3 separate regions of the Homo sapiens genome follow, and regions 2 and 3 are each linked to region 1. The links are contacts of gene promoters, found by promoter capture Hi-C in blood cells and fetal thymus (Javierre and others, 2016). All regions are on one chromosome and are shown on one strand. The core of a region is centred on a gene start or on the middle of the fragment in contact, and the rest is flanking DNA. Distances in the headings are between cores, read along the strand shown. Region 1 holds the start of TREH (trehalase). Region 2 has its middle 13 kb from the start of FOXR1. Region 3 has its middle 4.8 kb from the start of UPK2.

Region 1 (3,535 bases), core at 293-2,792:
ACTGCAAACCTAAGTCCTTCAGGAGAGGTCATGCCTATCATTAAACTCCATGTGCCTTGCCCACCCCCTGTCCCCTGTCCCTTCAGCTCACCTTCCATATGTTGAGGGGATGAGCCTCCTAAAGTAACCGAATCTGCTTTTTTTTTTTTTTTTTTTTTTTTGAGACAGAGACTTACTCTGTCGCCCAGGCTGGAGTGCAGTGGCATGATCTCGGCTCACTACAACCTCTGTCTCCCGAGTTCAAGCGATTCTCCCACCTCAGCCTCCTGAGGAGCTGGGATTACAGGTACCCGCCATCATGCCCAGCTAATTTTTGTATTTTTGTAGAGACGGGGTTTCACCATGTTGGCCAGGCTGGTCTTGAACTCCTGACCTCAGGTGATCCACCCGCCTCGGCCTCCCAAAGTGGTGGGATTACAGGCATGAGCCACTGCACCCAGCCTGAATCTGCTTCTTAAGCTCACAAACTTCTCTGCTGGTTCCACTTTGGGGAATTACAAGGAATTACATTCCTTGGCTTGGCAAAGACCATTTCCAGACTGGTGCCAACATGTTCCTCCAGTCTATCTCAAAACCCTTCCCTGCATGAACACCAAGTTCTCTGCAGCTAGGCTGAGGGGTTTGCTCTTCTCTTCACATGCTCTGCATACATTGTAGTGGTCTCCAGCCCATTTCCCTTGGCAAACTCCTATGCGGTCATCAAGACTCATTAGGACTGGCGCAGTGGCTCACGCCTGTAATCCCAGCACTTTGGGAGGCCAAGGCGAGCAGATCATGAGGTCAAGAGATTGAGACCATCCTGGCCAACACAGTGAAACCCCGTCTCTACTAAAAATACAAAAATTAGCTGGGCGTGGTGGCGGGCACCTGTAGTCCCAGCTATTCAGGATGCTGAGGCAGGAGAATTGCTTGAACCCGGGAGGCGGAGGTGGCAGTGAGCTGAGATCACGCCACTGCACTCCAGCCTAGCGACAGAGTGAGACTCAGTCTCAAAAAAAAAAAAAAAAAGACTCATTACAAATGACACACTATTGTGGGTCTCCCTTAGTCCTCCCCAGACAGAATGGTTCTACTGTCCTGTGCTTCCGCTGTATCTCTTGCAGATAACAGTGAGAGGCCCTGAATTTCACACCACACCAGGGACAGGATCTTGAGCCATTCCATTTGAAATGTTAAGGGAAATGGTAACTCTCTGAGGTTGGTGGTCTTGGGGCCACCCAAGGAACCTGGCATCCAGGTTACAGGTGTGTGGCCTCGACTGTGTCCCTGGCCTTTGGGTGCCCACTCCCCACCCCCACCACCATGCTCTGAGGGAAGGGCCTGAGCCATTGGCACCAGCTGAGACTGTGAAATAGAAGAGGCAAAGTAGAAGCAAGGGAGGTGGCCACTGTGCCCTGAGAGCAGGAGGGGCAAGCGGGCCACACACAGACCAAGCACACGTCCCCTCAGGTGGCCACGCCTCAAAGGCTGGACTTTGGCCGACTTGGACAGGCAGGTGAGCCAGGCTGTGCCCAGCAAGCCGAAGGTGCCTGGGCTTGCTCATTCAGTCACAGTCACAGCCACCATGCCAGGGAGGACCTGGGAGCTGTGCCTGCTACTGCTGCTGGGGCTGGGACTGGGGTCCCAGGAGGCCCTACCCCCACCCTGTGAGAGGTAGGGGTGTGGGGAAGGCAGCAGGGGAGGATGGCAATAAGAGGGAGGCTGGGATGAGATCTCAAGCTCTGGGGTCGGTACTTCAGAGGGAAAGGAAGAGATTATAAAGGAAGGAAAGAGTAGGGAAGAGAAGAAAATGAGAATTCCTATGTAGCAGGCTCTGTGCTGGGCACTGCACCTGCAGTCCGTTTTTTTTGTTGTTGTTGTTAGAGTCTTGCTCGGTCGTCCAGATGGAGTACAGTGGCACCATCTCCACTCACTGCAGCCTAGACCTCCCGGGTTCGAGAGATTCTCGTGCCTCAGCCTCCTGAGTAGCTGGAATCACAGGCATGCACCACCACGCCCAGCCTGTCATTGATTTTTACCAAAATTTTCCACCGTTGGAAGGGACATTAGGCTTGGCGACTGTGCTGGGAATACAAGCGTGAGCCACCGCCCCCTGTCGGGACCTGCAGTCCTGATACCAGACGCAGCTGCCAGAGCCTGGCCTGAGGTCCAAGAGCCTGCTGGCCAGAGCCCGCCCTCCCTTCCTCTCCTCCTCCAAGCTGCCCCTTGAACTGTGCAGGCCTCTTCTCAGGATTGTTCTAGCAAACTTTCTGCTCCAGCTTCCTAGTCTGGGTGTGAGAGGCAGCCTAAGGGCCTGAAGACAGCACTTGGGCTTGAGCCCTGACCCTCATATTCTCTCTGTGACCCAGGGCAGGTCAAGGCTCTTTCCTGAGCCTGAGTTTCCATCACCAGGGACAGAGATGAGTGACCCTGTCCTGTCTCCTGGACTCAGGCGATGTCCACCCTTCGTTCCACATGGATTTATGGAGCTGTGGCCACATCAGCCACTTTACCAGCTCCTGCAAGAACAATAATAATAGAAGAAAAACAGCTGGGCACGGTGGCTCATGCCTGTAATCCCAGCACTTTGGGAGGCCAAGGTGGGAGCTATCATCTGAGGTCAGGAGTTCGAGACCAGCCTGGCCAACATGGTGAAACCCCATCTCTATGAAAAATACAAAATTAGCCGGGCATGGTGGCGCACGCCTGTAATCCCAGCTACTCGGGAGGCTGAGGCAGGAGAGTCGCTTGAACTTGGGATGTGGAGGTTGCAGTGAGCCAAGATCATGCCATTGCACTCCAGTCGGGGCAACAAGAGCAAAACTCTATCTCAAATAATAATAATAATAATAATAGAAGCAAAACAGTAACAGAAGCACAGTTTGAAGTAGAGAGAAGTTAGGGCCCGCTGGTGTGGGTGAGCAGAGGGTGTGTTAGAGAGGATGGGGAGGGACGGTGTCTCTGAGGAGGTGATGTGTAAGCAGAATTGTGGCAGGAACCATTGCTGAGCTGATCTGGGAGAGGACAGTCCAGGCATGGAAAGGGCCATGCAGAGGCCCTGACGCACTGTTCAGGGATTGGGACGAAGGCCTGTGTGATTGGGGCAGAGTGGGAACAGGTCCGGGGAGAGCGGGGCTCCAGGCAACAAGGTTTGGGCTTGGGTTCCAGTGGTTAGACTAGAGACAGAGACAAGGGGTTCAATAGAGGGTGTGTGTTACAGGGAGAGTTGACAGTGCTTGCCCATGACAATTGTGGAATATAAAGGGGAAAAGTGTACCTGGGATAATTAATAGGTTTTGTCCTGAGCAATTGTAATGAGGACTTCAGAGAGGCTGGGTGGTCCAGTGCTTTGTCAAGCATTAGGCTGTTTGCCAAATGTAGGGGAAGATGACTTTACTGGTGTTCCCTAAGACCAACCTCAGGCCAGTGATTCACTAACACTTCCAAATGGTTATACCATGATTATGGTTTCATTTTTTTTCTTTTTTTGAGACAGAGTCTCGCTCTGTCGCCAGGTTGGAGTGCAGTGGTGCAATCTCGGCTCGCTGCAACCTCC
Region 2 (3,535 bases), core at 316-2,815, 300 kb before region 1:
TCCACTTGCAACTTAAACCTGATGTTGGCCAGGTGTGGTGGCTCACACCTGTAATCTAGTACTGTTGGAGGCCGAGGCGAGTGGATTGCCAGAGCTCAGGAGTTTGAGACCAGCCTGGGCCACATGATGAAACTTCGTCTTTAGTAAAATACAAAAATTAGCCAGATACGGTGGTGCACGCCTGCAGTCCCAGCTGCTTGGGAGGCTGAGGCAGGAGAATCGCTTGAACCTGGGAGGCGGAAGTTGCAATGGGATGAGATTGCTCCATTGCACTCCAGCCTGGGCAACAGGGTGAGACTCCATCTCAAAAAACAAAAACAAAGCAAAAAAATCCCTGATGTTAACAAGAATGTGCACAGCGATAAGGCTGTATACGAAGTGCAGATGATGGGGACAAATTGAGGCCAAATCAGATGAAAGCAGAGCTTGGGACTCAGGACCCCTCCTTCCTGGGAGCTGAATAGACTCGGGTGGCAGGAAAGAGGCTCTGGCTGCCGGATAGCTCTGGGTGGGCCCAGAGCAAATGACCTGACCTGGTCCCCCTCACCCACTCCTGCAGTGGCTATCACTTAGAAATCAGCATCCAGGCTGGGTGCGGTGGCCACGCCTGCAATCCCAGCGCTTTAGGAGGCCGAGGCAGGTGGATCACCTGAGGTCAGGAGTTTGAGACCAGCCTGAACAATACGGTGAAACCCCATCTCTACTAAAAATACAAAAAATTAGCCGATGTGGTGGCGGGCGTCTGTAATCCCAGCTACTCGGGAGGCTGAGGCAGGAGAACTGCTTGAACCCAGGAGGTGGAGGATTGCTTGAGTCCAGGAGTTCAAGGCTGCACATGAACTGTGATTGTGCCACTGAAGGGCCCTATCTCAAAGACAAAACGAAAAATAAATAAAAATTTAAATGAGGAGGCGGGAGCTACATCAGATTGGAGTTACCAGCAAGGAAAGCAGGGAGGAAAAATGAAAAAGTGAGACTACCTCAACCCTGGTCAGTTGCAGAGACCTGGGAGCCCTCTGGACAAGGGAGCCACTCTCTCAAGAGTGAAGCACCACCCACTGCCACTTCAAGACAGGAGTTATGCCCAGCCCAGGTGGGCAGTGGTGGCCTTGAAGGCAGAGCTTTGTTTCTGTGCAGGCCTGTTGGGCAGGAGGGAAGAGCGGAGAGGGAGTGAGATCTGGCATCGTCTCTAAGCACTGAGTGTCTGTGGGATCCCTAAACAGCCCTGAACCTCACTCATTCCTTCCTTGTCCTCAGGCTTCTCCCTATTCCCCACAGATCTAAGGCTGCCAGCTGTCCCTGCCCTGAGGCTGTCCCCTGCAACCAGGGAGGCCACAGCCCCCCAGCTGGGACCTGCAGCCTCAAGGACTCTTATTCCACAAGTAGCTTTTCCTGAGGGTGTGCTGGAGACAAACAGCATGGCGAAGGGTAATGAAACTCAGGCCCTATTTTTCTTTTGAGACGAAGTCTCCCTCTGTCACTCAGGCTGGAGTGCAGTGGCGTGATCTCTGCTCACTGCAACCTCCACCTCCTGGGTTCAAGTGATCTTCCTGCCTCAGTCCCCGAGTAGCTGGGATTACAGGCTTGTGCCCCACGCCTGGCTAATGTATTTTTAGTAGAGACGGGGTTTCACCACGTTGACCAGGCTGGTCTCCAACTCATGACCTCAGGTGATCCGCCTGCCTTGGCATCCCAAAGTGCCAGGATGACAGGCATGAACCACTGTGCCCGGCCTGAGAGAGGAAGATTTTTCTACAGAAGTATTTCAGCTAATAAGCTAAGAAAATAGAAAATTAGGGCCAGGCACAGTGGCTTACACCTGTCATCCCAGCACTTTGGGAGCCCAGGAGTTTAAGACCAGCCTTGGCAACATAGGGAGACCTCATCTCTAAAAGAAATAAAAATTTTAAAAAGTTAGAAAATTAGGAATATGATTCCTAATACATTTTTAAAAATTTTGGATGTGATTTTTTTTTTTTTTGAGACGGAGTCTTGCTCTGTCGCCCAGGCTGGAGTGCAGTGGCACGATCTCAGCTCACTGTAAGCTCCGCCTCTCAGGTTCATGCCATTCTCCTGCCTCAGCCTCCCAAGCAGCTGGGACTACAGGCGCCCGCCACCACGCCCAGCTAATTTTCTATATTTTTAGTAGAGACAGGGTTTTACCGTGTTAGCCAGGATGGTCTCGATCTCCTGACCTTGTGATCCGCCCACCTCGGCCTCCCAAAGTGCTGGGATTACAGGCTTGAGCCACTGCGCCCGGCCTGGATGTGATGATTGTATCATGTTCAGTCTTTTTAGAGAAAAGAAATGATGTCTAGAAATTGATTCAAAATAATCCAGGGAGGCCAAGGCAGGTGGATCACTTGAGGTCAGGAGTTCAAGACCAGCTTGGGCAACATGGTGAAACCCTCTATTAAAAATACAGAAATTAGCTGGGCGTGGTGGCGCTCACCTGTAATTCCAACTACATGGTAGGCTGAGGCAGGAGAATTGCTTGAACCCGGGAGGCGGAGGTTGCAGTGAGCCGAGATAGTGCCACTGCATTCCAGTCTGGGTGACAGAGTGAGACTCCGTCTCAAACACACACACACACACACACACACACACACACACACACACACACACACACACACAATAATTCCAGGAAAGGGGAATGAATGTGTTAATAACATTGCCTGTGGGGAGATGAAGCTGGATGACAGATATGTAGGGTTCATTAGACCGACTTTGTATGTGTTTGAAATCTTCAGTCAACAAAATATCAGTTGGCTAGTGCCTGTAATCCCAGCACTTTGGGAGGCTGAGGCAGGCGGATCACAACGTCAGGGCGATCGAGACCAACCTGGCCAACATGGTGAAACCCCGTATCTACTAAAAATAGAAAAATTAGTGGGGCCTGGTGGCCATGTGCCTGTAATCCGAGCTACTTGCTAGGCTGAGACAGGAGAATCGCTTGAACCCGGTAGGCGGAGGTTGCAGTGAGCCGAGATCGTGCCACTGCACTCCAGCCTGGGCAACAGAGCACGACTCCCATCTCAAAAAAAAAAAAAAAATCAAACCAAACCAGGTGGATTGCTTGAGCCCAGCAGTTCAAGACCAACCTGGGAAAGAGTGAGACTCCATCTCTACAAAAAATTTAAAAAATTAGCCGGGTGTGGCCGGGTGAGATGGCTCACACCTGTAATGCCAGCACTTTGGGAGATAGAGGCACGTGGATCACCTGAGGTCGGAAGTTTGAGACCAGCTTGACCAACATGGAGAAACCCCATCTCTACTAAAAATACAAAATTAGCTGGGTGTGGTGGTGCATGCCTGTAATCCCAGCTACCTGGGAGGCTGCAGCAGGAGAATGGCTTGAACCCAGGAGGTAGAGGTTGCAGTGAGCAGAGATCGTGCCATTGCATTCCAGCCTGGGCAACAAGAGCAAAACTCCGTCTCAAAAAAAAAAAAAAAAAAAAAAAATTAGCCTGGTGTGGTGGTACGCACCTGTAGTCCCAGCTCCTTGGGAGGCTGAGGTGGGAGAATTGCCCGAGCC
Region 3 (3,535 bases), core at 554-3,053, 270 kb before region 1:
ATTTCCCAATGGCTTGGAGTAAGGGAACCAGGGCCACATGCCTGAAGTCTCTGTCTTGGACCCACTCTTTCTAGGCTGTCTCCTCCTTGGATTCTTGATTCTAAACTCTCTTGAGTTCCCTCCCCTGCCTCCTCTCTTCCAAATCTCCTATTCAAGCACTCCTATTGCGTACCAACTATGTCCTTGGAACTGCACTAGCCACCAGGGATATAAAGGTAAGATAAGTCTCTGCCCTCAGGGAGCTCTTAACAGCTCTAGTCTGCTCAGCCTAGAAGACTATCTCCTAAAACAAACTTCTTTCTGGACTGTGGCACCTTTTTTTTTTTTTTTTTTTTTTCACTTGAACTATGGCAGTTCTTCAACCAGGAGAGCTGGGATCAGAACCCAGGTCCGTCTGACATGCCCAGGGTTCTCCTTCCAGAGTGCCACTCTCTGCCTCCCAGTCAATTAGAAAAACATGTCTACTTGGCTGCATGGCCATGTCAGCCTCTGATGGCAGCTACTGTCCTCTTGTTGATGAGATACCATGTAACTTTAGGTGGACTTCAATGTTCTCACATTTAAAATGGAAGACTTGGCCAGGTGCGGTGGCTCACGCCTGTAATCCCAGCAGTTTGGGAGGCCGAGGCGGGTGGATTACCTGAGGTCAGGAGTTTGAGACCAGCCTGGCCAACATGGTGAAACCCTGTCTCTACTAAAAATACAAAAATCAGCCGGGTGTGGTGATGCATGCCTGTAATCCCAGCTACTTGGGAGGCTGAGGCAGGAGAATCGCTTGAATCCAGGAGGTGGAACTTGCAGTGAGCTGAAATCATGCCACTGCACTCCAGCCTAGGCAACAGAGTGAGACTCCATCTCAATAAAATGAAATAAAAAATGGCAGACTCACCAGGCACAGTGACACATGCCTGTCATCTCAGCACTTTGGGAGGCTGAAGTAGGAGGATCACTTGGGACCTGGAGTTTGAGACCAGCCTTGTGACGCAGCAAGGCTCCATCTCTACAAAACTGAAAAAAAAATTATGGCCAGGCGCTGTGGCTCACAGCCTGTAATCCCAGCACTTTGGGAAGCCAAGGTGGGAAGATTGCTTGAGCCCAGGAGTTCAAGACCAGCCTGGGTGATATAGTGACATCTCTTCTCTATTAAAAAAAAAAAAAAAAAAGCCTGGGCACGGTGGCTCACGCCTGTAATCCCAGCACTTTGGGAGGCTGAGGCGGGCAGATTATAAAGTCAGGAGTTCGAGACCAGTCTGGCCAACATAGCGAAACCCCGTCTCTACTAAAAATACAAAAAATTAGCAGGTATGGTGGTGTGCGCCTGTAATCCCAGCTACTTGGGAGGCTGAGGCAGGGGAATTGTGTGAACCCGGGAGGCGGAGGTTGCAGTGAGCCGAGGTCCCACCATTGCACTTCAGCCTGGGTGACAGTGCGAGACCCCGTCTCAAAAACAAAAACAAAACAGGCCAGGGTGGTGGCTCACACCTGTAATCCTAGCACTTTTGGAGGCTGTGTTGGGTGGATCACCTGAGGTCAGGAGTTCAAGACCAGCCTGACCAACATGGTGAAATCCCCTCTTTACTAAATACAAAAAAGAATCACTTGAACCCGGGAGATGGAGGTTGCAGTGAACTGAGATCATGCCATTACACTCCAGCACGGGCAGCAAGAGCGAAACTCCATCTCAAAAAACAAACAAACAACAACAACAAAAAAACAATGAGCTGGGCATGGTGGCACATGCCTCCAGTCCCAGCTACTTGGGAGGCTATGGCGGGAGGATGGCTTGAGCCCAGGAGTCTGAGGCTTTGGTGAGCCATGATTGCACCACTGCACTCCAGCCTGGGTGACAGAGCTGGAAATAAAGTATATAAAGAGAAGACCCCTTCCTTACTCAGGAGGTCAAACTATGTGACAGGTGTAAAAATGGTTTAAAATAAAGGTGTGGAAGAAATGCTGGAGATCATTGTCATAATCCTAGGAACAGCCAGGGATGGGGGAGTCCTGGAGGATTGGATTTGGAGGTAAGATGCGGTGCTCACCAAATGTTGGTCCATTGGGAAGTGGTGGCACCTCTATCCTTGAGACCTGAGGCTGGAAAATGCTGTGAGGATGAGAAAATACCAGTCATTCAGGGTTGGAGGAGACTTGAATGCTCCATTTTAAAAAATGTAGCCGCCCTGCGTGGTGGCTCACGCCTGTAACCCCAACACTCTGGGAGACCGAGGAGGGTGGATCACCTGAGATCGGGAGTTCGAGACCAGCCTGACCAACATGGAGAAACCCTGTCTCTACTAAAAATACAAAATTAGCCAGGCGTGGTGGCACATGCCTGTAATCCCAGCTACTTGGAAGGCTGAAGCAGGAGAATCGCTTGAACCCGGGAGGTGGAGATTGCGCCATTGCACTCCAGTCTGGGCAACAAGAGTGAAACTGTCTCAAAAAAAAAAAAAAAAAAAAAGTAGCCTCTGATACAACCACTTACCCCAAATCTTCTTCCAGCTTTGTGACTTTTGCCAAGTTACATACCTCACTAACTGCTCTGAGCTTCAGCTTCCTCTGCTGTAAAAAGGGTATAAAACCAGGCCAGGCATGGTGGCTCATGCCTGTAACCCCAGCACTTTGGGAGGCTGAGGTGGGCAGATCACGAGGTCAGGAGTTCGAGATCAGCCTGGCCAACATGGTGAAATGCCGTCTCTACTAAAAATACAAAAAATTAGCTGGGCATGGTGGCAGGTGCCTGTAATCCCAGCTACTCGGGAGGCTGAGGCAGGAGAATTGCTTGAACCTGGGAGGCAGTAGTTGCAGTGAGCCGAGACCACGCCACTGCACTCCAGCCTGGGCAACAGAGCCAGACTCCGTCTCAAAAAAAAAAAAAAAAAAAATTAAAGGGTATAAAACCTGTCTCACAACCATCTGATCTTTGACAAACCTGACAAAAACAAGAAATGGGGAAAGGATTCCCTATTTGATAAATGGTGCTGGGAAAACTGGCTAGCCATATGTAGAAAGCGGAAACTGGATCCCTTCCTTACACCTTATACAAAAATTAATTCAAGATGGATTAAAGACATAAATGTTAGATCTAAAACTATAAAAACCCTAGAAGAAAACCTAGACAATACCATTCAGGACATAGGCATGGGCAAGGACTTCATGACTAAAACATCAAAAGCAATGGCAACAAAAGCCAAAATAGACAAATGGGATCTAATTAAACTAAAGAGCTTCTGCACAGCAAAGAAGCTACCATCAGAGTGAACAGGCAACCTACAGAATGGGAGAAAATTTTTGCAATCTACCCATCTGACAAAGGGCTAATATCCAGAATCTACAAAGAACTTAAACAAATTTACAAGAAAAAAACCCCATCAAAAAGTGGGCAAAGGATATGAACAGACACTTCTCAAAAGAAGACATTTATGCAGCCAACAGACATGAAAAATGCTCATCATCACTGGCTATCAGAGAAATGCAAATCAAAACCACAATGAGATACCATCTCACACCAGTTAGAATGGCGGTCATTAAAAAGTCA

What was found. Contacts are between HindIII fragments. The CHiCAGO score rates a contact against its expected background, and 5 or more counts as called.
Region 2: a fragment that was not itself captured here is called in contact with the fragment with the promoter of TREH in region 1 in 1 of 17 cell types (naive CD4 T cells); the score reaches 6.4 in naive CD4 T cells.
Region 3: a fragment that was not itself captured here is called in contact with the fragment with the promoter of TREH in region 1 in 12 of 17 cell types (non-activated CD4 T cells, naive CD8 T cells, naive CD4 T cells and 9 more); the score reaches 17.1 in non-activated CD4 T cells.

The regions. Positions count from the first base shown.
Region 1 is chr11:118,677,657-118,681,191 of GRCh38, reverse strand. It overlaps TREH (trehalase), which reads left to right and starts at 1,542. Exons shown (of 15, transcript NM_007180.3): 1 at 1,542-1,653. The coding sequence starts at 1,565. RefSeq lists enhancers at 991-1,650, 1,651-2,312. The HindIII fragment of the contact is 8,736 bases long and covers 1-3,535 here.
Region 2 is chr11:118,982,637-118,986,171 of GRCh38, reverse strand. No RefSeq gene overlaps it. Among named protein-coding and RNA genes, the nearest start is that of FOXR1, 13 kb to the right of the region's middle. The HindIII fragment of the contact is 5,393 bases long and covers 1-3,535 here.
Region 3 is chr11:118,949,770-118,953,304 of GRCh38, reverse strand. No RefSeq gene overlaps it. Among named protein-coding and RNA genes, the nearest start is that of UPK2, 4.8 kb to the left of the region's middle. The HindIII fragment of the contact is 6,551 bases long and covers 1-3,535 here.